7 separate regions of the Homo sapiens genome follow, and regions 1, 2, 3, 4, 5 and 7 are each linked to region 6. Evidence: promoter capture Hi-C in 16 types of primary human blood cells and fetal thymus (Javierre and others, 2016). All regions are on one chromosome and are shown on one strand. Each heading gives the region's core, a stretch centred on a gene start or on the middle of the fragment in contact. The rest is flanking DNA. Distances are from core to core; before and after follow the strand shown.

The links. The method cuts DNA at HindIII sites, captures the fragments that hold promoters and counts their contacts. A CHiCAGO score of 5 or more calls a contact.
Region 1: a contact is called between a fragment that was not itself captured here and the fragment with the promoter of TBL1X in region 6, in 7 of 17 cell types (neutrophils, non-activated CD4 T cells, total B cells and 4 more). The highest score is 8.3, in neutrophils.
Region 2: a fragment that was not itself captured here is called in contact with the fragment with the promoter of TBL1X in region 6 in 1 of 17 cell types (total CD4 T cells); the score reaches 5.4 in total CD4 T cells.
Region 3: a fragment that was not itself captured here is called in contact with the fragment with the promoter of TBL1X in region 6 in 6 of 17 cell types (non-activated CD4 T cells, naive CD4 T cells, activated CD4 T cells and 3 more); the score reaches 10.0 in non-activated CD4 T cells.
Region 4: a fragment that was not itself captured here is called in contact with the fragment with the promoter of TBL1X in region 6 in 5 of 17 cell types (naive CD8 T cells, naive B cells, activated CD4 T cells and 2 more); the score reaches 8.5 in naive CD8 T cells.
Region 5: a fragment that was not itself captured here is called in contact with the fragment with the promoter of TBL1X in region 6 in 2 of 17 cell types (naive B cells and total B cells); the score reaches 5.5 in naive B cells.
Region 7: a fragment that was not itself captured here is called in contact with the fragment with the promoter of TBL1X in region 6 in 1 of 17 cell types (total CD8 T cells); the score reaches 6.2 in total CD8 T cells.

What each region holds. Positions count from the first base shown.
Region 1 is chrX:8,856,616-8,860,335 of GRCh38, forward strand. It overlaps the pseudogene ANAPC15P1. Among named protein-coding and RNA genes, the nearest start is that of FAM9A, 57 kb to the left of the region's middle. The HindIII fragment of the contact is 1,669 bases long and covers 674-2,342 here.
Region 2 is chrX:8,805,945-8,810,093 of GRCh38, forward strand. No RefSeq gene overlaps it. Among named protein-coding and RNA genes, the nearest start is that of FAM9A, 6.6 kb to the left of the region's middle. The HindIII fragment of the contact is 751 bases long and covers 1,892-2,642 here.
Region 3 is chrX:10,094,033-10,098,075 of GRCh38, forward strand. It overlaps WWC3 (WWC family member 3), which reads left to right. Exons shown (of 24, transcript NM_015691.5): 8 at 100-249. Among named protein-coding and RNA genes, the nearest start is that of CLCN4, 61 kb to the right of the region's middle. The HindIII fragment of the contact is 1,620 bases long and covers 1,027-2,646 here.
Region 4 is chrX:8,742,791-8,746,923 of GRCh38, forward strand. No RefSeq gene overlaps it. Among named protein-coding and RNA genes, the nearest start is that of ANOS1, 13 kb to the left of the region's middle. The HindIII fragment of the contact is 2,187 bases long and covers 645-2,831 here.
Region 5 is chrX:8,839,327-8,843,149 of GRCh38, forward strand. No RefSeq gene overlaps it. Among named protein-coding and RNA genes, the nearest start is that of FAM9A, 40 kb to the left of the region's middle. The HindIII fragment of the contact is 7,511 bases long and covers 1-3,823 here.
Region 6 is chrX:9,463,614-9,467,309 of GRCh38, forward strand. It overlaps TBL1X (transducin beta like 1 X-linked), which reads left to right and starts at 1,445. Exons shown (of 18, transcript NM_005647.4): 1 at 1,445-1,834. RefSeq lists enhancers at 45-873, 701-900 and silencers at 1,131-1,710, 1,831-1,970, 2,271-2,420. The HindIII fragment of the contact is 11,363 bases long and covers 1-3,696 here.
Region 7 is chrX:10,072,143-10,076,247 of GRCh38, forward strand. All of the region lies in intron 4 of WWC3 (WWC family member 3), which reads left to right. Among named protein-coding and RNA genes, the nearest start is that of WWC3, 59 kb to the left of the region's middle. The HindIII fragment of the contact is 218 bases long and covers 1,534-1,751 here.

The DNA of each region.
Region 1 (3,720 bases), core at 258-2,757, 610 kb before region 6:
GTTGGGCTGGCCTGGAATCTCCCTGAGGGCACCCTGCCTTATCTACCTAGATCATTCACTGGTCCACATCCTGTTCGTTTCCTTCATGTCCACCTCATTGACCTCTCCGTCATCAGGTGACCCATTGTAGTCATTCATCTTGTCCATGTCCTGCATGTCCTCATCATCCTCTAAGTCCTCTTCACTATCCTCATTGTCTTCATCATCCTCCTCTTCCTCATCATCATAGTGCTCTGAGGCTGGCTTGCCAATAGGAACCAGATTGTTGTCTTTCTCTGTGATGCTTTCGAGCCAGGTCTGATGCTGCTGTTCCTGCTGCTGCAGCTCTGTCTCTCCCATACAAGGTCGATCCAGATTAAACCACAGTGTCTCAGTCCCACAAAGGAAGAGTGAGGGAAACAAAGTGGACATGGTTCCTAGACTGGGTTTGAGTCCTGGCTCCACTACTTACTAGCTGTTTGACCTTGGCCGAGTCACTTAACCTCTCTGGGCCTCAGTGTCCTCCTCGCACCAGGGTCTGCAGCCAGTGGAGACCCGGAAGCGCTTCACCAAGCCTGAGTGGAAGAACCCACCAGAATCCGGGACTCACCCCCAAGCAGTTTTATGTGATCATCTAATCCTGTTATTCTGATTTTGAAAAAGAGAGACAACTCAGCAGAGCCGTTAATGTCAAAGCTTTTGCTTATTTCAATATATTAATCTAATGGGAAATGCTCTAGAAAGTTGTAGATATTCATGTCCCTGCAAACAGTTGCATCACATCTAAGATCTTTCTCAGGGGACGAACGTGAATTTCTTATTAAAGTATTTCCTCTTGAAACCCAGAGGGTAAAAGTTCTATATATTTGGATACATAGATTTTAAAAAGTGTTGGTATTCTCCCTTAAACCTCACAAAAGTCCTACAGAGTAGCTACCTTTCATTACCTTATTAGAGATAAGAAAATTGAGACTTGAACATTTAGTGAGTTTTCCAAAGGCTAACAGTTCAAATTGCAGATCCAGGCCCGAAAACACTGGCAAGATTCACTTCACTCTACCCTGCTGAAGCTGTTACCCAACAGAAGGATTAGAAGATCTAACCCCACCCAAATGATTTCTTAGCTTCCTTCTCAGAGGTAAGTATGGAGAGTAACACTCAAGTTGATTAGGAAATTTAAGATGCGCTTTATGTAATTTTCCTTTGGAAGGCTACCTTTTCCCAGCCTCACAAACATGAGAAGATTATTTGATAGGTTATGCTGGGTGAATATGGGACTTGTGTCTGAAATGGCTTTGTTCCTTTCTCAGAAGGTAACATAGTGCATTGCATGAAATAGACATTTGATAATACAGGTTATGTGGACAAATTTTTGTAGCTGAACCTCTATTTACAGGATGTGTTGACGATTGTTGAGTGTCCTTCTATGGACTCCTAGCTGTACAGTGCTAACAAATAAAATTTGTCCATCTAATCCATTTAGTTTAGCAAGTGATCAATGGAATGAAAAAAGTCAAACTGATTGACTAATTTTACTAAGTAACCAAACTACTTCTCTTTTCAGTTCAGCAACCTGTCAGTTCACTTTAACCCTTTGGCTCCTGAGTGATGCAGACATGAGTCTCTGCTCTACAGACAAGGACTTAGTCTAATAGCCCACTCCGCTTTAGGGCCCAGGCTTGCGATGGAAAAACAGCAATTTGCCCTCCTTCGGACATTTTGATAAATCATAAACATATTCATCCCCAAACCTCGAAATTATTGCTGGAATTTTTTTTAAGCTAGCAACACAAAATTCGAGTTCTACATTCATCAAATTCAAGGCACAAAACCTCATAGAATTATAAAGTCCACCCAATCAATGGAATTCAGAGCTAAGAATTCAGCCACTAAATGGCATGATTGCTGTAATTAGTCGAATGGTATAATTATAGTAAACACATGATAAGTTGCCACTGAAGCACATAATTGCACAGTATAATGGTATTATTATGATTTCTGATGATATAATATGATTTGGATGTATAACAAATTCCCATAACAATATTAAAACATTTTTCATTTGTGCATTTTCTTAGTACCTGATTTGGATTTTTTACATTATGGGAGTTTAAGTCAAAGACAGGAAATCAGACCACGTTTTCAACGAAAGAAAAAGAAGTTATTATTCAACATAATACCTTGTTGAGAATGTGGTTAGAAAGAGATAAAGGACTTAAAGTATGAAGTCAGTCATTAGGATAACCCTAAACAGGTATTATGGTTATAATTCAAGAAAACACCTTTACAAACATGAATGTTATTTCATATCTATTCTATGTTCCAGGAATTAATCATTTTACTTTGAGGTTACCATGAAAATAAGCTTTCCCAGGTCACAACACTGTCCACACTATCTTTGTTTTTTGTTTGTTTGTTTTGAGATGGAGTTTCGCTCTTGTTGCCCAGTCTGGAGTGCAATGGTGCTATCGTGGCTCACTGCAACCTCCGCCTCCCTGGTTCAAGCGATTCTCCTGCCTCCGCCTCCCGAGTAGCTAGGATTACAGGCACCCACCATCACACCCAGCTAATATTTTTTATTTTTAGTAGAGATGGGGTTTCACCATGTTGGCCAGGCTGGTCTTGAGCTCCAGACCTCAGATGAGCCACCTGCCTCGGCCTCCCAAAGTGCTGGGATTACAGATGTGAGCCACTGTGCCCAGCCTATCTTTGGTTTTAACTTCCCTAGGAGAAGACAATGTTTTCAAGCCATGTGCACATTGGTTATATATGTATTGTTGTCCCAAATTCTTTTTAGATGTAGATTTTGTATGATCAAAAACATTTTTATTTCATAGAATTTGGGAATTGGAAGAATTCTTAGAGAGTTGAGATGCATAGTTCAGGAATTCATGGACTTATTTCATTGAAGGTGCTAGGTGTATAAGTGGAAGTACATTCTTCTTGGAAAGGGATTTTTATCATGGTCATTAGTGGAGCTGTGAAGCCAGAAAGGTCTACCTGGGAGATTCTACCATCCGTCTCTACTGGGGCTGAAATCTTCTCCACAAATGCCCATCAGGTCTTTATTCCACTTCAGCTTCAACCTTCATAGTAAGGAGGCTCTAACTAATCTGTACAGTAGAAACCATGAGTTCTCTGCCTACCAACCTGCTAATACAGTTTAACTTTCTTTTTTAAACAATGAAGCATAATGTTTCTTTCTATTAAGGCTACAGTTCACAAAACCTCCTAGCCACACATTGTTTAACAGAACTTCCCATGATAATGGAAAATTCTCTACCTGCACTGTTCAGTGAAGTAGCCACTAGCCATATGTGGCTGTGGAGCACTTGAAATGTGGATGATGCATCTTAGGGACTGAATCTTTTATTTAACTTAATGGTAATTAATTTATATTTAAATTTAAATAACCATAAGGGTGGTTACCATATTGAACAGCACAGCCCTGCACATTGTTTTTCTAGGCAGGTTCCTCTTCAACACTATTTTACTCACTTATGGCACTGTACATTACATTTTATCAATTTACACATGCAGTATTATATTATCACCTAAGCAAATATACAGCATTAAGCATCATAAAAGTTCAATAAATATTAATGGTTATCAATAAATGGAATCATTACAGACAATGAAATAGCACGACAAAATATAAGAGGTAATTAGAATCAGTCTTGCTTTTATTGACAAAGACAGTCCATGGAACTGGGAGCCATGATCACATCATGGTATAGGTTT
Region 2 (4,149 bases), core at 1,017-3,516, 660 kb before region 6:
AGATGCATCCATCAATGAATTAAAAAAATAAATTTTAACAACTTTCTCTAGCATCAAGTTGAAACTCAAGTCTCAATAGAGCAAGTTTCAGGAACAGGTGGGATTTCAGGAAGTTTCAGGAACAGCAGCTCAGATTCTCTTCTTAAAGGGGGATTCCCTCTTGACATGAAGCCGGCAACTCACTCTGCATGCAGAACATGCAACATATTTCCATGCCGGGGAGAGAAGGATGTGACGTCATTCATTCATTCACTCATTCAGTCATTCCCTTATTCGTCTATCTAATAGCTGTCAAGACTCCTAGTATGTGTTGGGCATTGTACTACATGCTAAGTATATAGAATCTCTTTTCTAAACTCAAAAAGTTGTAAGTAGGTGGTAGTAGTGGTCAGGTTAAAACATTTGTGAAAAGAAGAAATTACAGTGACAAGTGCTACAATAGATAGTAAGTGATGTAGGATCCATAAGGAAGAAGGACAAATTATCTTTAGTGTTGACAGGGAAGATTTTACAACAGGAGAAATTATCTGAGATTAGTTTGGAAGGATAAGGACAAAAAGGTATTCCAGTAGAAAATGGGGACAAAAAGTAGAAAAATGGGGCACTTTAGTCTGGGAGTCATCAAAGGTGGGGTATACTTGGAAAGAGTAAATCTTTTGTAGAACTATAAGAGATTCCAGAGTCTGTGTGAGTTATAGTTTTAGGAGATAAAGTTGAAGATATTTGGGCACAATATCTTGGGGTATAAGCCAAGAGATAATATAGGTTTTATTTTTGCACGTCAGTGGTTCTCAATCAGGGGCAACTTTGTGCCCCCTCCCTGGGATATTTGGCCAGGTCTAGTTTTTGCTGTTACAACTGGGGAGGGGGGCAGGCTACTGGCATCTGGCAGGTGGAGACCAGGGATCCACTAAGCACCCTACACTGTACAAAGTCCCTACAGCAAAGACTCTGTCCCAAATGTCGACAGTGCTAGGGTGAGCAACCTTGCTCTAGATAATGGAGATTAACTGAAAGATTTTACACATGGAGAGAAGTAAAGGGGTACTTTCTAGGAAGGTGATGCGACATCTTCTAGGAGGTTTGCCACATCACGATGGTCATCACAACGCTGGGAGGCAATAAGACAAACAATATTCGTCTGCAGGGAGAAAGATCAACTAACTTCTTGAGCATCTACTCTGTGCTGGATATTCGATGTGTTGTATCAATCCCCCCATGATATTGGCAACTGCTACTTTCTGCAGCAGTGGGGACCGTCAGATGAAACAGGATGAGACTAGAGGCTGGGAGACTAGAGGCTGGGATACCATATAGATCAAAATTCACTCTCACATGGAAATAGTGGAGGTCTGGACTGTAGCAGTGTCTGTGGAGGTGGAGATCTGAGAGCAAAGAGGAAGGTCAAATCAAAAGGAATTTTTTACCAATTACATGTGAGAAGGGTTTAGCCACCAAATGGAAGGTTTACAGAATGACTTCGAGGTGGCTGGTTTGGAAGAGTGGGTAGCTGGAGAGACTGTAAAAGGAAGTCTCAGAGGACAGGTACAGGGCCACCCGCACTTGTGACCTTTGGGGTGCCCATGGGAGGTTCAGATGTAGATGCCTGGTAAGCAAAGGGAAAAATAAGTCTCCAGTTGTAAAGAGACCTCAAACAGATATGTGTTTAAGAGTTTGCAACATCACAATGGTCATCAAAACACTGGGTGTCATTAAGAGAAACAATATTTGCCTGCAGGGAGAAAGATCAACTAATTTATTGAGCATCTACTCTGTGCTGGACAGTCAATATGTTATCATCTCAGTCTCCCCATGATATTGGCAAGGAGACTGAATGCAGACAGGCCCAGGAAGGCGCTCAAAGTCAGGCAGCCAGTCAGAGGCAGAGCCAAGCTTGGAACCGTGTCTCACCAAAACCAATCCCCATCCATTCATTCTTTAAATAATATTTATAAAGTGAATTGCTGCGTGGAGAGGAGAAGCCACAGAACAGGTTGAGAAAGAAGACCCTGAGTTAGGAAAAGAAAAAGTGAAGAATGATGTCATCAAGTCCAAAGGAAGGAAGAACTTCAAGTAATAGTTTCAGTTATCCATTGTAAAAAGACTCAGAGTCAGACCAGAGGATGTTTCTGCCATAAATTGCTATCCAAATGATATCAAGTCATGCACACACACACAGAGTTTATATCAGAGTTAGAATGTGTACACTGCATTAGACACTGAGCATCATCAGGGTCTTGCTGGAGTGCCAGGGGCAAAAAACAGACCATAATTTGTAGAAAAGTACTTAGAGTTTGAGGAAGTAGAGCCAGGAAGAACAGAAGGAAGGTAGGGTGGTTGCTAAAGGGAAAATATTTTACAGATGAAGATTCAGACTTGAGCATAGATGTAGGCTGAAGGACTTGAGTGGAAACACCAAAGTTTGAGTATGTAGGAGAGAGGGTCTAAATGAGAGAATGAAGGAGTTGGCCTTGGAGTGGAGAAGGGTCCACTGTTCCTCTAAAATAGTGGTCTTCAATCTTCTTGGGCCCATAGACTCTCTTGAGAATCTCGTGAACGTTTTAGATGTCTCTCCAGAAAAACAACTGTAAACATTCTCAAAACTGGGTATGATCTTAGGGAGTGCTTGCTAAAATCTCCTAAGCTTAAAATTTAACAGGCTGTCCTTGAGAGTGAAGAGGTGCTATTAATGTTATTATAAAGGACAACAGGCTCCATTGAAGCTTCAAGCAATCCCAGACTGGTGAATTGGAAGTGGCTGGAGAATGTGATGAGCTGGATTTCCTCTGTGCTGGCATTGATTATCAAGTTATTTTTATTGATTATTATTACTAATCAATTTATAATTGATTTGATATTAATTTGGTATTAATAATTATCAATAATAAATAATATTATAATCAATAATCTATAATTATTGTGATTAATAATCAATAATTATTATTGATTATTATTGACTGAATCACAGTAAGAGTTCCCCTGAAGTTCCCCTGAAAAGAACAGTTTGCATTTGTTAGGAAAGAGGTGCTCTGGAAATTGATTTCTTTCAAACAATTGGCTCCTGTGAAATCCTTGCAATATCCTTGTGTAAAGCCAGGGTTATGTGGATGACCTCTGAAAGCCATTGATGTGGAAATTCCTAATGTAGAAAAGGTATCAGAGATGTTTCTGGAAATGTTTACACCTGGAATAGCAATTTGGTATATCCCGGGGGAAGTATCCAGAGCGAGGAAATCAACAGGAGCCCAAAGTTTTGCATTCTATTTATTGAGTAAAAATGTATAGATTGCTAGCCACATGACAAGACCTGCTCCAAGTGCTTTATGAACGAATTTATTAAATCCTCATCTTAAGTCTACTAGGTAGGTACTGCCATTATCCCCATTTTACAGAGAGGGCTATAGAGGCACAGTGAGATAGCAGGGTTGATCTTAGTTTGGGTCAGAGGGTAGATTTGGAACCAGGCTGTCTGTTTCCAGAGTCTGGCCTCCCACTTCTACTCTATATTGAGAAAGTTTACATATTATAATATGTTCACATATTCACTCAGTCAACTCTTCTTATAAGCTTTTAAATATCATACTTGTTTAATCACATGTATTCTTTAGTATTGTAAAGGTAACTATCTATCCTCTGACAAGGACTGTAGATGGGAAGAAATGCATCCAGGAATCTAATTAATCACACCAGGGCCCTATGGATACATTTAGGGGTATGGGAACAGTACCTCATCACTACTTATAGGTTTTGAGAGCCTTCAATGAGCCACCTCCGAAGCCTTTTTAAAGATGGCTGGACGTGCTTAGGCAGAGGGTCCCTGATTTGTGTGCTAAAGCGCCTTCAAATGAAGGAGTTTCAGGTGAACAGAAATTCTCAGGTGTTAAATGCTGCTACAACTCTGGAAACACTGCCTACTCCTGCCAGGTGACCAGAAATTCAATCACCTTCTCCGCTAACTGACCTCAAAGCAACTTTACCCATAATAGCTAAGAATACCAGCCAATACTTGCTGCTGAGTATTTCTTGTGGGCCAGGCTACACACACACACACACACACACACACACACACACACACACACACACACGCAGATGCAGATGCAGGTACTCAGTTTGCACAGTGGTACAGTAATGCAGGGTCACAAAAATAAG
Region 3 (4,043 bases), core at 587-3,086, 630 kb after region 6:
AAATAATGCAGCAGACCTAAAACAAATGAGAGAACCACTTCTGGAGGGAAGAGACACATCACCATCTCCGTTCAAAGAGCTTGTCTCATTGTGTTCCAGAGCCTGGCCAAGCTGACCGATAGCTTCAAGAACAGCTGCTCCGTTACCGACTCTCTAGTGGACTTCCCTCACCATGTAGGCGTGCCTGGCGATGCTGGTGTACCCCAGCAGTTCTGCGATGCCGGCTCCCAGACTGATATCATCGGGGAGGTATATGCGCGCCCAGGGGGAGAAATGCACCGGGAGAGGGGAGGGCTGCTTCAGTGTTGCCATCACTGGTTTGGTGTAATTTTCCATGTTCACTTAAGAAATGCCTTCACTTTTGTGCCATTAAGTTTGAAGAAAAAGTGTTGTGTCTCACATCCAGCTGTGTGATACAATTGAATTGCTTATTACTGCTGCCCTTATGATTTGGACTCTTATAAATGACATACTCCTTGTGAGAGTTGAGTTTCACTGTTCTTTTGACAGACATATCACTTTTTAGAGCATGAGTCCCCACGCTTTTTCTGTGAAGGGCCAGATAGTAAATATAGTCACTATTTTAGGCTTTGCAGGTAGTTCTGCTGGAACTGCCCCACCCTGTCATTGTAGTGTACATGCAGCCATAACAGAGATGCCTTGCAAGCATGTAAGACTGGGGCCTCGAGCTGCTCAAACGTTCACTTACGGAACAGCCAGTGGGCTGGATTTGGCCCCAGGGCCATAGTTACTGATTCCTGCCTTAGACCACTGATTTCCAAAGGCTTTATAGCTGTGCCACCTTGGGTGTTACTTTATTGCTGTTTCTTACTCTTCTAAAAGAATGTCAGGAAATTGAATTGAACTAAAAGTCATTTTTGTTTGAGACTTGGAAGAATGTCATAATGCCTCCTTTGTTAATTAGCGAAGCCTTGAGTTAGCCACAAAAACAAAGTTGGGAAAATCACCATTTGAAGCAGGATGGTGGATATTCAAAGACGCTAGTATTGTAATATCATTGAGTGAAGCTTGACATTAATTTGTTACCAAATGGAAAAACAGTTTAAAGAGCTTCTTTTTTTTTTTTTAAGGATTATTAAGTAAAGATGAGGTATCAATGGAATGCACAGTGCCACCCCTCCCCCGAAATTAAATAAATAAAAGGAAAGCAACAAAAGGAGGAAAAAACAATTGATGGAAAACTCTGGGTTTTAAATAATTAGCTAATTAATATTTTGAAATCTTAGCAACTAGTGCCTCTTCGAGTGGAGTATAATGTAGGAAATCACGGCCCTTTATGTCTTGGGTGTCCTGGAACAGTCCTATTTTCAAATTTGCCTGCGTTGTTCCAAACGTACACTTGGCCGTTTTTGACTAGGCATCTTCTTTGGATGAAAGAATATGGTCGCCATCTGTAACACACAGAGGAGAATCTGTAATTCAAAAATGTTTGGCATTTTTGCGTAAAGATTTTGGAGCGAGAGAAGGAAACAAGTGTAAGACTCATTGAATTCGTGAATAATTCATTGCTGCTTATTGTAAGGTTAGAATTAGAATTTAGTTTGAGAGAAACAGTTAAGATAGAAGGTTCTCCAGTGATTTAGGTCAACCCTTCTAAAAATGTCAGGTGAGGAGTGGTGGCTGGTTATGCTACTTGAGCAGTCACTGCTCATTGTTGATAAGCTCCTGAAGTTTACCGGGGCTGACCCTAGGTCAGCAATCTCATAGCTGTTATCTCAGTTTAAGTAGTTGTTCCCATCCTGTGTGATGTGCAGGAGACCGAGATGCCAGGTTACCTAAGGTCTTGTAGCTGAGGAGAGGCAGGTCTGGTTTTGAAACATTTCTCATCCCTAAACCCCTGTACTTTCTAAGAAACCACATCATGTTATAGAAAAATAGATCAAAAGGCTATGACTGTATTAGCTAACCATTGCTGCATAACAGATTTCCCCAAAACCTAGCCTCTTACAACAACACTCCTTTATTATCTCATGCTTGATGTGGTCCAGGAGACTGGGCTGGGTCTTCTGCTCCAGGGTCTCTCAGGAACTTCCCTGCAATCAAGGTGTCAGCCAGGACTGTGGTCTCATCCAAAAGCTCACCTGGGGGAGGGGCCACTCTTAAGCTCATGTGATTGTTGGCAGGATTCAGTTCCTCACAGGTTGCTGGACTGAGGGCTTCAGTTCCTTGCCACATGGGCTGCTCCAGCACGGCAGCCTGCTTCGTCAAAGTGTACCAGCTGAGAGTCTGCTAGCAAGATGGAAGTCACAGTCTTTTGTAACCTATTCACAGAAATGACTTCCCATCACCTTTGTTCTGTTCTATTGGTTAGAGTCAAGTTATAGACCCAGTTTATTCTCAGGGGGAGGGAATTTCACACGGGGAGAATCCCAGGAGGTGTTGGTCATTAGGGGCCTTCTTAGAAGTCTGCCTACCTCACTTTGTGCTTGTGTTGAGTCTGTTTTGTGGGGTGGATATTGCTGTATGTCAGATGTGCTTTTTGAGACTGGAGATTTGCAGCCACAGGGTTGCACACGCTGTAGCGCTGCATAGGAACTCTGAAGCAGGAGTCTCTTGGATCCATTTGGCTGTCTTTTCTTTTCACTAAAATGTCCATTTAATTCTCAAAGAAGAGTACAGAAACAAAGCTTAGAGAGAGGTGCATACAGCTTTGAGAAGAGGTTTGAGAGATGATGTTTACTGATCTTGATGAGTTGATTGCAGGGTCACTAATAAAGAGGGGACTGAAATGGCAAGTAGCTCATCTCCACTGTGGACAGCTTTTGGAGCTGTGGCACTGCCACTTAAATATATTTATACTGAGGAAGCTGGAGAGGAGCATTGGATGAGGCCGTTTAAACATGTATAATTGTGGCCAGGCACAGTGGCTCATGCTTGTAATCCTAGCACTTTGGGAGGCTGAGGTGGCCAGAGGTGGCCAGATTGCTTGAGCCCATGAGTTGAAGACCAGTCTGGGCAACATGGCTGGGCAACCACCTGGGCGTGGTGGCTCATGCCTGTAGTCCCAGCTACTTGGGAGGCTGAGGCAGGAGGATCGCTTGAGCCCAAGGGGTTGAGGCTGCAGTGAGCTGTGATTGTGCCACTGCACTCTAGTCTGAGCAATAGTGCGAGACCCTGTCTCAAAAAAAGAAACCATGAACAATTGTCATTCTGGTTGGAGAATGCTCAGTCCCTTGTAAGGCACTTTTTCATCTTGCCATTCAAGGCAATAAATTTGCGAAGACATTTTTCATCAACATAGATCAAAACTCGTGTCGATAAATTCACTGCTAATCATTCAAGTTGAATATTTTCAGATACTTGTTGATGGGAAGTTATTTCAAAAATGTAAAGACTTGGTGGCCATAATATGTGATCTAGTAAGGTCAGATCAACAGATGGAGCTGATTTATTGAAACTGGAGTTGTGTGAATATTTGCAGGAATGAGGAATTAACCAAAATGTACTACAGTTACTTCCTGTACATGTCTTTTTTTGTTTTGTGTAGGATTTTATTGTCATCAATGTAACTGGTACAAAAATATTTAAGTATATCTACTCGTCACAGAGCACCGCATTTAGGCTAACTCTATATTGGTACTCCCCGAGCTCTGGCTTTTTGAGACCTTGCTTGCTTTCCTTTTGCCCTTGGTTCTTTTTTTTTTTTTTTTTTTGAGACGGAGTCTTGCTCTGTCGCCCAGGCTGAAGTGCAGTGGCTCAGTCTCGGCTCACTGCAAGCTCCGCCTCCTGGGTTCATGCCATTCTCCTGCCTCAGCCTCCCGAGTAGCTGCGACTACAGGCGCCTGCCACTACGCCCGACTAATTTTTTGTATTTTTAGTAGAGGCGGGGTTTCACCGTGTTAGCCAGGATGGTCTCGATCTCCTGACCTCGTAATCCGCCCGCCTCAGACTCCCAAAGTGCTGGGATTACAGGCGTGAGCCACCGCGCCTGGCTTGCCCTTGGTTCTTTAACACACCTCGTGGCATCAGAAGGCGTCCACCAGCCCATCCGTCACACAGCTAGTCCAGCTTCCTCAGACCGT
Region 4 (4,133 bases), core at 488-2,987, 720 kb before region 6:
GATGTTGCTCTCTCCCCTGAAATGGTCGTCTCTCCTCTTGGCCTGCCAACCCTGGTGCACTGAGAAATGTATTATTGTCCCCACCTTAGGTAACTGTATTGTCCTATGGGCAGCCTTTTCTAACATTCTCAGATGACACCTCCTGAGTATTTTCTTCATGCTGTTCATTTTTATTATGTTCGCCACGCCTTATCAAGTCTTTGTTTACATGTCCATGTCCATCTCCACTTCTTATGGCTGATGGCTATTTCTGATAGGCGCTCAACAAATTATTTGCCTGGAACTGGAAATACTCGACACTCCTCAATTTGCGGCCTCTTTTTTTCTTACAACTTCTTAATTGTTGTATTCAATATGTAATTTTTACTCTAGGTGTTCAGAAGTATGATATAAGAATTTACGAATAGCATAAACGTTATCTGAAATTATGGAGGCCTAAACCCAAAATTCATCAGACCACATTCTCTCTGCTTCCCAGAATGTATTAGTAGTTTGGCTGATTTAATGCTGGCTGTCCTGGTTACACTTGCCAGCAGGGGGCACCAAAGGGCTACCCTGGGAGAAAGCCCCAGAACTTGCTTCCAAAGTCAGAGTTGACACTGGAGCCTGAAGTTCCCTCATAGACAAGACACCTTCGAAGACAAAGCTTAAGATGGCAATAATGAATTATCCTCCAGCAAAGCCTGAAGAGGACCAGCGAAGCAAGGAAGGAAATCCTCAAACCATTACCTGAGAGACAAATCAGGTGTCAGATCAAAGATGAATTTAGTATTAGAGAGATACTTCTTAAGTAAAGCACAAAATGCATTAACTAAAAAAAGATAGAGAGGCCGGGCGCAGTGGCTCACATCTGTAATCTCAGCACTTTGGGAGGCCGAGGCGGGAGGATTGCCTGAGGTCAGGAGTTCGAGACCAGTCTGGCGAACATGGTGAAACCCCGTCTCTACTAAAAATACAAAAAAAAAAAAAAAAAAAAAAAAAAAAAAAAAATTAGCCGGGCATGGTGGCGTGTGCCTGTAATCCCAGCTATCCAGGAAGCTGAGGCAGGGGAATTGCTTGAACCAGGGAGGTGGAGGTTGTAGTGAGCCGAGATCATGCCACTGCACTCCAGCCTGGTGACAGAGCAAGACTCCATCAAAAAAACAAAACAAAACAAAACAAACAAACAAACAAAAAACAGAGAGAGAGAAAATTTCAATCCACTTGGTCATGTTAAAATTAAGGCATATTGTTTACCAAAGACATCTTAAAGAAAGAAAAGAGACTAATTACAATGTGGTAGAAAATGCCTTCACAATACACACCAGACAAAGTGTTGGAATAAAGAATATGGAATTAATTCCTACACATGAAAAGAAAAGAGCACAAACAGAACAAAAAAAAAAAAGAGAAAATCTTATAAACAGGCATGGACAGAGGAAGAAACGTGTTTCTAAAAGACATGTTTAGCATCATTGGTGATTGGAAAAAATATAAAATAAGCCCACACTCTCTGTTATTTTTTACTTTGGCAACAATTTAATAAAAGTCTGACCATGCTAATTCAGCTGCAATTTAGAAGTCTGACCATGCTAACTTCTTTGAAAGTGTATGGCTCTACAGCATCTTTTATTTTTAAGATATTAGAGATGGGGTATTACTATTGCCCGTGCTGGTCTCAAACTCCTGGATTCAAGCGATCTTCCTGTCTCAGCCTTCTGAGTAGCTGGGACTACAGGCATGAACCGCTGCACCTGGCTTCAAAGCATCTTTGATACTTTGCTGGTGCGAGTATCGATTAATGCAATGACTCTGGAAAAGAGTCGGACATCACCACCAAAAAACCAACCACCCGCATAGATGACGATCCCTCATTTTCACTCCTGGTGCAACCCAACTGAAGCTACCGCATATATATTATCAAAGTCTTGACCAAGCAACTTTACAGCAGCACAGCTCACGTTATCAAAATCCTGAAACCAATAAAGTGTCCATCGATAGGACAACAGCTGCATAAACTCTTGCACATTCACATACTGAAATATTGTACAGCTGTTAAAATTAACTACAGAAATGCATATGTTAAACAAAAACCTTAACAGTATGTGAAAAAAATGCCAACAGACTACACATGGTAAGATATACTATCTCTTTATAAAGTTAAAGGTAACTAGAATAAAAAAAATACTTATTAGTAGCAAATATATGCAATAGGGCAGGCGCCATGGCTCATGCCTGTAATCCCAGCACTTTGGGAGGCCAAGGTGGGTGGATCACTTGAGGTCAGGAGTTCGAGACCAGCCTGGCCAACATGGCAAAACCCTGTCTACAAAAATAGAAAAATTAGCCGGGCATGGTGGCATGCACTGTAGTACCAACTACTCAGGAGGCTGAGGCAGGAGAATAGCTTAAACCCAGGAGGCAAAGGTTGCAGTGAGCAGAGATCGTGCCACTGCACCCCAGGCTGGGTGACAGAGGGAGACTCTGTCTCAAAAAAAAAAAAAAAACACAAGTATATGCAATAAATTTATATAAAAGGGGAAGAAGCGATCATCGTAGACATAGATTATAAGATAATAGTGGGTAAAACAGGAGGATTTGTTGATTGTATAAGGCCTAGCTTTTGTTAGTGGCAGTGGGATTTTCTGGTGTCCATTACGCTATTAACAATACCTAATTAAATAGTTAGCTAAATAAGTAAAATGGGCTATACCTGGAACAATGTTGCAAATGTCACGGACCAGGAGTTACAATTTATCTAACTCAGTGTACCTGAAAATTAAAAATATAATGAAGTCAAAATAACAGTGCCAGACACTGCATGGTCACTTAAGCAGCAACACAGGGTCCTAAGCTTCTGTTGCAATATTAAATGCATCATTTGTTAAAAGAATGGGTCAGAAAGCAATGGTTTGTTTGTTTGTTTGTTTTGTATTCTTTCTGGATGGAAAGTCAGAGAAGAATAAGGCTTAGTAATTGAGTGTTTTTCTTAGGAATAATAAGGAACCAAAAGATAGTGTTCAGATGACTGAAAAGTGTTAGCCTTGGGGATAAAATAGCCCTAGACTTTTGTAGAGCTGTCTCAAGTACCTAGTGAAACAATATGTCACTGTCAGAAAAAATGAGAAGGTAAAGAGTCCAAGACAGGGAACTGACACATGAGGAGAAGATGAGAACTCCGTGGTTTAAACAACCCATGCTTGCAATGACACTGGTCTTCTTTTTTTATTATTATTTTTATTTTTCCATAAGTTATTGGGGTACAGGTTGTATTTGGTTACATGAGTAAGTTCTTCAGTGGTGATTAGTGGGATTTTGGTGCACCCATCACCTGAGCAGTGTACACTGCACCATATTTGTAGTTTTTTTGTCTCTCGTCCCCCTCCCGCTCTTCTCCCCAAGTCTCCAATCTTTGGCATGGGTGCGATGAACAGGGAACACTTCTACACTGCTGGTGGGAATGTAAACTAATACAGTCGCTATGGAAAACAGTGTGGAGATTCCTTAAAAAACTAAAAGTAGAACTACCATTTGATCCAGCAATCCTGCTACTGGATATCTACCCAGAGGAAAAGAAGTCATTATTCGAAAAAGATGTTTGCACACACATGTTTATAGCAGCACCATTCACAATTGCAAAATTGTGGAACCAACCCAAATCAATCAACAAGTAGATAAAGAAACTGTGATATATATATGATGGAATACTATGCAGCCATAAAAAGCAATGAATTAACAGCATTTGCAGTGCCCTGGATGAGATTGGAGACTATTATTCTAAGTGAAGTAACTCAGGAATGGAAAACCAAACATTGTGTGTTCTCACTGATATGTGGGAGCTAAGCTATGAGGACGCAAAGGCATAAGAATGAGGCTGGCCTTCTGTGGAGCTCACTGTGCCTGTCTGCAGGGAGGGAATGCCTTTCTTTATAGTTTTTCACTCTCCTGGGAGACACGGATTTCAGGATCAGCATTATATGCATAATGTTCAAAATAAAATGGGCCAAATGAGATCACATAGGAGTAAGTGTGGGTATAAAACAGCTATAAGGAGATTTCAGAGGATTTTAAAAGGCACCACAAGCTAGAAAAATAGTTACTACAATAATATGTCTTTCCTTATATCTACAGGTTGGTGAGCTCTGGAATGTGCA
Region 5 (3,823 bases), core at 19-2,518, 620 kb before region 6:
GTTCAGAAAGAAAATGTAATCATGGCAGAGACTACCGTTCAAATGATGGTTCATGATGCTCAAAGTCAAAGCCAAGTCAATGGCAGTACAACTGTAATCACGAAAAATCATCTTCTTACTCCCCAACCCAATTGTGGCAACTTCATCACTTGAAATTAATGTTGTCAGCTTTATTTAATTTTATGGGTTATGCACCCTCTAAATACACAAAATTGTTTTAAATTTAAGCCTAACACACTATTATAAACTCGTTAATAAAATTTTAAAAAATTTACGCACTTTAGAATTTGGTTTATGCTTAATTTGGATGTTTACTTTTATGGCTTATATAGGTTAGAAACATATGGCACACACATAAAATATACCTACCTACTTATATATTTATACACATTTAAATATAGTGCTGTTAAAAGATAATTTTCGGAAAGGGTAAAATCATGACTGCGTACATATATAAAAGTTAACATGTGTTCATGACTTTATTTGAGTCATTAATGAATGAGGGAACCAGACAGATGTTAGAACCCTTTCACCAGAAAAGTCAAAACAGCACAAACGTACCTGGAACAAAATAATTGAATCACAAAATGGCAGCAAAGCTGGCTTTTCCAAAGGTGGAGAGGGAAGTCAATAGAACCTGTCTGGCCAAGGCAGAGTTTGCACACCTACTTGTACTTGCAATTTATAAGAGATGCAAAGATTCAGGGCTGCATCCCACTGCTTGGAAAGGGACGCTTAGTGGCAATGCTTAGGTGTTCACCTAATTTTTCTCTACAATAAAAGTAATTGAATGCTGGACTGAAGTTCAATGAGGAAATTCTTTTTTAAACTTCAAATGAGATCCATACATTATTCAAGTATGAATAATTTAATCCCAAGCACCTAAAGAAGACTGCTTAAATATGAATATTTCTCAGATGAGTTCTTTCTGATAAGACATTATATGTATTTGTTGTACCATTACTTTTTTCTGAGATGGGGGTCTGGCTCTGTCACCCAGGCTGTAGTTCAGTGACATGATCATAGCTCACTGCAGCCTCCAACTCCTGGTCTCAAGTGATTCTGCCACTGTAGCCTCCCAAGTAGCTGGGACCAGGCATGCGCCACCATGCCCAGCTATTTTAAAAATATATATTGAATTTATACATTCATATATGTAGATATGTATACATATGCACATGTACATGATTATAAGGGACAGTCCTGCCTGTAGGGAAAATGAGAGAAAACAATCAGCCTGAGAAGTCAGGGGTTGAAAGGAAAATGCATTTCTAACCATAAGCAGAGAGGAAACCCACACAGAACTGAGAGGTTTAAATTTCATGGCAGCCTGGCCAGCACGTGATCAGAGAGATTTGCATCACATATGCAAATGCAATAAAAATAGGTGTCAGTATTGATTATCTTTCATCTGAAGAATTCAGTAGTCACATTTCTCAATAGCAGGTGCTGAGAACTTTTATGCCTGCACTCTGTTGGGTGAACAATTTAGTCACTTGACCAAGTCATGGTACCTATAGAAATGCAATAATCCCCGCTTAAATTTTCTTATAATGAGGTGGGATGGATAGTCTATTGTTACATTTTTTAAGCTGCATAATGTAAATAATATTATTTTTGGTCCTGTAAAATTTTTTGAAGGATTTTCAATGAAAATGAAAATGACTCTCTGAAGACTGGGGAAATTGTTGAAAGGCAGGATTTTCTTACTTTTGGCCTCTTGCTCAATTCAGCTGAAAATCACAGCTTGTCTTCTGAAATAGCCAGTGCCATTTGAAATACTCAGTTGAAATGGTGTTCGATTGTAATGTGCTTAAATGATTGAAAAAGTGAATTTAAGCAGGTTTAAGTAGATGGAGGCTTTCAATAAGTGTTGTAGTCATTTATTCAAAGTATTTCACTTAAGGAGGTAATAGCTGACTCATTCATATAACTAATATACCTCGTGTAAAATAATGTATGCTATTTGCGAATTTGAGTTATAAAAAATGCTTTCATGTTTCTAGTGCATAGCCCGTAAAGCCAGGTATGTGGAAATTTACAGTCCAGTTTTCCTCATAGGAATCAGCTCCTGCCGCTATCAAACAGATATTTCTTCTTCCATTTTCTTTGGTTCTTATGGAGTCATAGTAAATAGCCTTTAAACTAAATATGCTACCCCATGGAGCCCCATCCACCACACCAATATTGAAGAAAAAATGATACAGCTCATTAAAACAGTGGTATTTTCTGTAAAATGGGAATAACGGTAGTATTTCCAAAAGATTATTAGATTCTAGAACTTCATTACACTCCACTGACCCAACAAGGAGCTACATTTTTATGCCAATTATTTAATGAAAGGGTCATAAAAGAATGTTCAATTGTCTGGAAATATGTCCCAATCTCCCTCCAGAAAATTAGTATTTTGTTGTTGTTCAATGAAGTGAAAGTTAGGGAATAACTTGCTGAGGGGCTTCACTAGAAAGCCAGTAAGGCATTTTCACTACAGACTAGAGCCAATTCCATCAACTGTTAACAGGCGCCCATAAAATGCCAGATGTAGAGCAGTCCAAATTTGTTTATTTGTAGCATTAGCATGCATTCTTTCAATATGCAGAAATCCTCTTTATGGCCATATGCACAGGTGTGTCTACCGTGTGTTTAAAAGAGTGACAGTATTTCTCCCTATCACAAGGTCAAAAACCTCTTTCCAAAGCCAACCCGCACAAACACTGGCTGTTTCACTGTTGTGTATAGTGGCTTTCACCGCCTGCTGTTCTGGCTCCACACTGGGGCTTTGGAGGCCTTTAGTTCATACAAGACGCATTGTGGTTTGTGGTCAGCAGAATAATAGCTCCAAATATGTCCAGGTCCTAATTCCTGGAACCTAGGAATACACTAGGTTACATGACCAAAGGGACTTTGCAGACGTGGTTAAATTAAGGATCTTGAGATGGGGGGATTATCCTGGATTATTGGATGGGCCCAAATTAATCACGTGAGCCCTTAAAAAGCAGAGAACCTTTCCTAGCTGGGGTCACAAAGATGCAGCAGAAGAGAGTCAGAGAGATGAAAGATGAAAAGGACACACCTTACCGTTGCTGGCTTTGAAGATGGAAGGGACCATGAGCCAGGGAATGAGTGTGGCCTCTAGAAGCTGAGAATGACCGGGTCTGATAGTCAATAAGGAGACGGAGGCCTCAGACCTCATCAAAGAACTGAATTCTGCTACCCACTTGCACAAGCCTGAAAATGAATTCTTCTCTAGAGTCTTTAGAAAAGAGCTTAGCTCAGCCAATACATTGATTTTACTGAGATCCACATCAAACTCCTCTCTTACAGAACTGTGAGACAATATATGTGAGATAATACATGTGTTATGTACAAGTGCTACATTTGTAGTAATTATTTATAACAGCAATAGGCCACTGATTCTCAGCATAGCTCTCAACATCCCCTGCACCCCGTTAATTCTGAGACATTATTCTTCATAAATCATAGCAAAAACCTAGTAATGAAGATTTTTAGGAAGAAGAAATACCACTCCCTTAAATTGAAGGTAACATGCATTCTGGTTTTTAAAATAATAAAATGTAGACAGAAAATAAGATAAATTAAAGTCTTTATCTTTGATTTAAGGACATATGGTATTTATTGGTGGCTAAACATAGGGAGTTTCCAATGGTGGCCAAATATAGGGAGTATCCAAGTTTATATCAAAACATCTGTGTTCCTAGTTCTTTTAAAAATATGTCTCACATCTATTCATATTCTGTTCCCCGAAATTTCCCCCTTTCTGAAATGCCGACATAATTAGAAGACAGTTAATATTGGCTCCCTT
Region 6 (3,696 bases), core at 195-2,694:
GGGCACGGTGGCTCACGCCTGTAATCCCAGCACTTTGGGAGGCCGAGGCCGGCGGATTGCCTGAGGTCAGGAGTTCAGACCAGTCTGGCCAATATGGTGAAACCCCGTCTCTACTAAAAATACAAAAAAAATTAGCTGGGCGTGGTGGCATGCGCCTGTAATCCCAGCTACTCGGGAGGCTGAGGCAGGGGAATTGCTTGAACCAGGGTGGTGGAGGTTGCAATGAGCCGACAGCGCGCCACTGCACTCCAGCTTGGGCGACAGAGCGAGACTCCTCAGAAAAACAAAAACAAAAACAAAAAAACAAAAACCTCACCTTAGGTCCCCCTCCCCCTACAACCAGAACAACAAATGGTCTAGAGTTCGAGGAAGAGCAAGTGAGGTTATAGTTTAGATTGCTGAGTGTACCGGGCTCTTAGCACGAAGCTCATTATATAGTAAAGGAAGGGGCAAGAATATTTGAAAAATATTCAACGAGGCTGACCCCAGAGGTGCTGGGGAGGGGGAGTGGAGATCTGTTTAACTGAATTAAGGCTGCGAGTGGTTGGGAGTAGCCTACGTGGAGGGGAGGAAGGAGCGCTGGGGACTTAGGTACACCGGGGCCAGGCCGTGTAAGCCATTGCAACATAAAGCACTTTGCAAGGGCCAGAGGGCTGATGCCTGGGGGGTTGGGGTGGGAGTGATGAGGCCCGAGTGCCCAGGTCCCCCCAACCTCCTCAGCCCCCACACCCGAGTTCCTGGCGCCTATGCCTGTGTGTCTGAGTTTGTCCCTAAGCATTTCTGGCTCTTCTTGGGAGGTGTTTTGCAAAGGTCGAGGCTCCGCCGGAACCCCCACTTTTTGAGCTGGGGTAAAGACTACTGGGGTGTCTTCTAAGACGCCGATTTTGAGGGAGATTCACCATCGGGCAGGTGGCAGGGGGTTCTGTTGGGGCAGCCGGGTGGCTTCCTTTTTGGGGTGGGGGAGGGTAACACTTTAGCAGTGATCGAGGTTCCCCTGCCCCCTAGAAACTGAGGGGGTGGCCGAGGTTCCCGTCCCCTCGAGGCAGTCGTGGAAAGGCTGGGTTTGGGATGTGATGGGGGTAGCCCTGGGGTCCTCTCAGTCCCACGGAGGCCACGGGGAAGGGACCGGGACCAGAGCAACTAGGGAGAGGCCCGGGTTCCCCTCACCCACCCTAGGCGTGGGGGAGCGGGGCGGGCTTGGTAGGGACGCTGGTCCCCCGACCGTGGGACAGGGGCTGGGTTGGGACGCGGGTCCCCACTAGGAGCCGCGGGGGAGGGGCAGGGCCGGAGTCCCTACCCTCGTAGGGGAGGGGCTGGTTCGGGACGCGGCTCCCCCGGGGCGCAGGGGCGGGGCCGGGTGGTACGCCGGGTCCCCTCCCACGGCCGTGAGGGAGGGGCCGGCGGCGGGGGCGGACCCCTGGCGGTCCTCCTGGCTGGGGTCCGCGCGCTCGCGGCAGCTCCCCGTGGAGGTCACTGTCCGTGCCAGTCCCTCCCGCTGTCCCGCCCTCTCCCGCTGCCGCCGCCGCCGCCGCCGCGCCCGCCTCAGCGCCCCCACTCCGCGCTTGGGAGCGAGGAGCCGCCAGCGCCCCCGCCCCGCCGCCGCCGCAGCGCCCTCAGGCCGCCATTCGCCACCGAAACTTTCCAGCGCCCGCGCTCTCTCCGGGACTCGGCGGCGGCGGGGCGGGGGCGGCCCGGGGGCGGCGCGCGGCTGCTCCGGGGCGCCGGGCCCTCTTCGGCCGCCGCACGGCCGGGACTCGGAGGCTGCCGGCTGGAGGGAGGTTCGGAGCGCGGCCGGGCGCGCGGCGCCGCCACAAGTTGCGCTGCTCGCGACGAGGTGAGTGCGCAGGGCTCGGCGGGCCGGGCGCGGGGTCCGCAAACTTCTGCGGGGAGGCGGGTCCCGCGCTGACCCTCCAGGGTCCGGCCGGCGGCTCGGGGCGCCCGAACGCTCCACCCGCCCCTGGAACTCCTGTAGGTGCAGGTCGCCAACTGTCCCCGCGGCGCTCGGACTGGGGTGCGGCGCGCTCCCAGGAGCCTGAACAATACCCCGAGGTGGCCGCTCCCCGAAGTGCCGGCGCGCCTTGCGGGGAGAGACGGAGGTCGGCGGGGGGCTCCTTTGTTTTGGGGAGGGGGAAGTGGCCGGTAAGTTTAGGGAAGCGCTCGGCTTTTCCTCCGGTGCCCCTTTGTCTGCCGATTCAGGGGCTTGCTGGGCAAACCTGCGCCACCGCGGGCTCCGGGGACCGGGGTGGAGGGCGGTGGCGGGATTTCCCCGCTGTTGGGGAGAAGAGCCCCATTCATACCCGGGACGCGGGCCGGCCCTCCCGGACCCGGGTGGAAGCGCAGCCTCGCGGAGTGGGGCAAGCGGCGGGCGAGGTGGCGCGGGCCCCGTGTCTGCTCAGTTTCTGACGCGCAGAAACTGTCAAGGAAGTCGGGAGCCCCAGTCCTCCGCCCATCTCCCCGGCCTGAGCGCACGGCTGGGCTGGGGGCACCCTTGGCCCGTCGAGGGTCTGCAGAGCGCCGCCCGGGGAGAGCGCAGACCTGTTGCTGCTCCTGGGCTCTGACGGGGCGGGTGGGGTGGGTCTCGCAGATCCTGGGCCCCGGCCTTGCTATCCAGGGGGACCTTCCCTAACGATGGGACCGGTGCTCGGAGTGGAGTATGGGGAGTGCGCCTTCGGGAGTCGGCGCTGGCCGGATATGTGACAACTGTGGGTCGCTGGAGGCCCGCCTGCGCTGGGATAGGGCCTGGACTTCACGTGCGTCGCCTGTGTTCCGTCAGACCGGGGCCGGGGCTCGCTCCCTGCAAGGCCTCGTGTTCCCCCAGCCAGCTGCGTTGGACGTTCCACAAAGGTAGGGACTGACGTTTATTCTCGAGTCAGTGATGTTCTGGAGCAAAACCTAAAAAGAAACAAAAACCTACCCTCTATTGTATTTGCAACTGTTTCTGCTTTGCATTGTCATGTGTGGTTTGACCTGCCTTTTGGATGTTTTCCTCTCCTGAAACATCGCCCAGTCCCTGGTTTAACCTGGAAGGCGAGGGGGAAGGAAGGCAACCTCCCTGCTAAGGTTCCAGGCAGTGGCTTTGGTGTTGGAAGTGGCACTTGACGATTTTATGAAAAGTTTACAAGTCCTTCCTAGAAAAGATGTAATTAGGAAAAATAAAATACAGAAGAACGTTGAGTATGACGCGTTTATTTTAAAGGGTAGTCCTGTCTCAAATGTGCTGCACATTTTTGTGGAAAGCCACCAAGCTGGGTAACTAATGCAAACAACAAAAGTTGTTCATCACTGGATCACCGGCCCTTAAGGCGATTCCAGCCCTTAGTAGAACACACACCTGTAGGGCAAATATGGAGATTTGTGGTGTAGTGCTGCCACCCTCGCTCCCCAACTCTCAGGCATTTTGCCCCTTTACCTCAGAGAACTTCTCTCTGTCAGTGGTTTTAAAGAGGAAACAGTTTGCAAAAATAACTTTATTGTAGACATACTTAGAAGTGAATGTTTCAATTTCTGGAGTTTTCCCATCAATTATATCAGTACCACTGGTTCTGTACAACATCATCTTAGTTAGAAGATTTTTTTTCACCTTTTAAGGTGACGAACAGAGGCGGGAAAATGGTCCCTGCAGAGGGAGGCCATCTCCAGCAGGTCCCGAGGGTCAGGAATTCAGATTATCCGATCTACTCCTGCTGGATAGGAGCA
Region 7 (4,105 bases), core at 393-2,892, 610 kb after region 6:
TGAAAATAAAGACTAGTTATAAATTGACAAGTTGTCGGGAAATTTTGCAGCAATAAAGGGGGCAAGTGGAAGGCAGAGCACTTTCTAGATCTTGACTTTTCCATGGCCCATGTAAGATCACTAAACTGTTCATTTATTTTTCGACAGTTAGCACCTGCTGTTGATATATACTAAATGGCGGGAACATGTTTTTTTTGTTGTTTGTTTGTTTTGTTTTGTTTTGTTTTTCGAGACGGAGTCTCGCTCTGTCCCCAAGCTGGAGTGCAGTGGCGCGATCTTGGCTCACTGCAGCCTCTGTGTCCCGGGTTAAAGCAATTCTCCTGCCTCAGCCTCCTGAGCAGCTGGGACTACTGGCGCATGCCACCATGCCCAGCTAATTTTTGTATTTTTAGTAACAGGGTTTCACCATGTTGGCCAGGATGGTCCCTATCTCTTGACCTCGTGATCTGCCTGCCTCAGCCTCCCAAAGTGCTGGGATTACAGGCGTGAGCCACTGCGCCCAGCCGGGAACACGTTTTATTCCTAATGGTTGCTTGTTGGGAAAGATGAGGCAATAATGTGTGAACAGAGGAATTAACTGGAACAGCCATTTCTAATGTGGGAGCAGAAGGTAGGGAGGAGAAGTGCATCTCACCTATACCCCTCACACATTTCCCTCGAGCTATGGAAATCACCAGAAGAAAACTTCATGCATTGGAGAGGAAAGATTTTGTGTCAGTATTGGGCCATCTGGTATCTAAGAACATCCGTGCCTTGACCTGAAAGCAAATTCAGATATTTGGCTGGATGCTTTGCACACTTGTCTGCATGAGAGTAGGAACCCAACCCTGCTTGATTTCAATGAGCTTCTGTGCTAGCTGCCTGGTGATGCCCAGGCCTCATTTATGCTTCGTAGAACACTGGGGTGAAACTGCTCAACAATGGACTCATTCTCTCTGAGACACACCTGCTACTTTTTCTACAGCTCCATTTTGTAGAGTTTTCTTCTACTTTCTTTATTGCAACATGTTCTTCTATTTGCCTGCCTTTTAACACTGAATACGTTCATTATCTCAGACACATTTTTTCCTGGAGTTATTCCTTTATTCTTCCTGAGAAACTCTAGCCCCAGGCACATTCAGATGAACTATATATGACCATTTGCAGGATCTTTTGGAAGAAATTCTTGCATGGGGTAGGATAATAGTCTAAACCTCAGGTCTGCAAACTATGTCAAGCCTGTGGGCTGGATCCTATCCACTGTGGGTGTTTGTAAATAAAGTTTTATTGGAACACAGCCATGTCCATTTAGTAACCTATTGTCTGTAGCAGCTACAGTGGCAGAATTGAGTATTTGAGACAGATTGTATGGCCCACAAAGTCAAAAATATTTAGGGTCTGGCCCATTAGAGAAAAAGTTTGCTAATTCCTGGTCTATACCCATAGTTCTCAGACCTGGCTGCAAGCTAGAATCTTTAAAAACTTGCTGCTTGGACCTCACCCCAAGAGATTTTGATAGAACTGGCCTTGGGTGGGACCAGGCTTTTTTTTTTAAGCTTCCCAGGTGATCCCCAGGGTTGAAATCCACTGGGCTAGACAGAGTGTGAATGGCCCTTGTAGCAGCAGGAATATGACTTTGTTTATTATCCTAGTTCCTAGGAGTTACTCAAAGTCTACATTGAAAGTCTTTCTGGGTGGCTAGGAAAGAGGCAGCGTTATCTCTGGTGAGAAAGTGCTGATCCACCCTGAGTTCTTGGATTAGGTGGTGGTGAAGCTTGACCTTATCAGCCATCAGCCTTGCCAGCATTCCTTCTGAGGCTCCAAGCCTGTCTCACAATGACTCTTCCATTGGTGCTCTGTTTTTTTTTTTTTGTTTTTTTGTTTTTTTGTTGTTGTTGTTGTTGAGACAGGATCTTGCTCTGTTGCCCAGGCTGGAGTGTGGTAGTGTGATCTTGGCTCACTGCAGCCTCAACCTCCCGGGCTCAGGCGATTCTCCTACCTCAGCCTCTTGAGTAGCTGAAACTCCAGATGTGCGCCACCATACCTAGCTAATTTTGGTACTTTTTGTAGAGATGGGGTTTTGCCATGTTGCCCAGGCTGGTCTCAGACTCCTGGACTCAAGAGATCTGCCCGCCTCTACCTCCCAAAGTGCTGGGATTACAGATATGAGCCACCGCACCCGGCCTCATTGGGGCTCTCGCTGTTGAAGGATTTCTCATTTGCTGTCTTTGGTTAGGAACAGGGCTACAGGCAATCCATTCCAATTCAACCTTTTGTTTTCCTTCACACACGCATGTTGGAGCAGGCAGGAGAAAAAAGGATCATGGAGCATTTTTCCCATGTATTAGTCAGCAAGCCAGATTTTGGAGGTTGCAGCAAAGCACATGTGTTTCCTGAGAAATAATCCCCTAGTCTGTCCTGGAGGGAGAATTCCTGGTTAGGATTTGGTGGCTTCTTGGGTTACTTCTGTAGATCACCCCCAGGTGGCCTTACTTGATTGTTTTTGGTCTTTTGCTTATATTGCCTTAAAAAAAACCCATCCTGCCCGCTTTGTTGGCCTTGCGTATTTCTCCATGTGCCTCTCTGGTAGATAGTACCTGTCAACCTGGAACCTGTCAGGGCTTGTCGGCCTTTTGCCCAGAGTCATTCTTGGCTCCCTTGAGCAACTCCTGACAGTGCTGATCCCTGGAGGCCTACACCTGGTCCTAAGGAGCAACCTGCTCCAGAGGATGTCTTTGAAGAAGGACTGCTGGTCTTTTAAAGCATGTCTTGTCTCTGGGGTGACCTTAGGTACCCATAGCTCAGAAGACGCCTGTACATAAGAGAGACAAAGACAAACAGACTCATGGACACACACATTTCCCCTTTCAGTAATCTGTCAAACTGAAATCCAGAGTTAAGTACTGGGGTTTGCAGCATTTTGAGTCCTAAATACACAGGTCAAGTTCACCTGTTGGGTGGTGGGCACTGGGGAGCTGGAGGACCGTTTCTTCTTCTGGGAAAGCTAGCCCAATTAAAGGATCTTTGGCAGCTGACCCACCGGAGCCCAGATTCTAGACATGAAGCCCTCTATGAATGATGGCATAATGTATTATAGATCAAGTCACTACAGACTCAGTCTTTTAATCTATAAAATGGGCAAGGACACATAAGTATCATTTCACCTTCACAAAGATTTTATGAGAATAGATTAAATAAATGTGAAAGGCACCCTGTAATAGCAAGGTATAATAATTTACATTGCTGTGGTCCAGCTAGGCTATAACCTTGTTATTATATTATCTGAGGCAATGTTGTATGCCTGAGCAGACTCCATATGCTATTTAATAGCTCTGCCCACTTAACTCTTCAAGAGAGAAGAAAGCTTCAGAGGTGAAAGTCTGGTCTTTAGCATAAACCTCGAGATTGGAGACATGTCTTAATAGAGGAAGATACTCCGTTTATAAATGTTGTGGAAGGCCGGGCACGGTGGCTCACTCCTGTAATCCCAGCACTTTGGGAGGCTGAGGCAGGTGGATCACTTGAGGTCTGGAGTTCCAGACCAGTCTGGCCAACGTGGCAAAACCCCATCTCTACTAAAAATACAAAAAATTAGCCGGGTGTGGTGGCGGCGCCTGTAATCCCAGCTACTTGGGAGGCTGAGGCAGGAGGATCGCTTGAACCCAGGAGGTGGAGTTTGCAGTGAGCTGAGATCACACCACTGTGCTCTGGTTTGGGTGACAGAGTGAGACCCTGTCTCCAAAAGAAAAGAAGTGTTGTGTAGTACACGCTATTATGAGGTCTGGAGTCCTGATCTGTTCTTGGACTCTGTAAATGGTTCTAGTAGTCTTATTGGCAGATCTGAGGAACTGAGAATTTTATTTATAAATTTAATTACATTATTAAAAGTTATGCCAGTGTTCACAACCATCCTTAGTATTTGAAGATAAAATGTATTCACTGTGTTAGTTACTTGAGTAGACTTTTCCCTTATCCCAGTCCTGGAATTTTATAATTTTATAGAGACCATAGCAAAAGTAACATGAATGGGATCCACATAATTAAAAGGTATTCTGTCACTTATGATGGTTTCAGCTGCAGCAGAGAAGAATAATTCTCATGGGCCTAGACAATAAGAAAATTCATT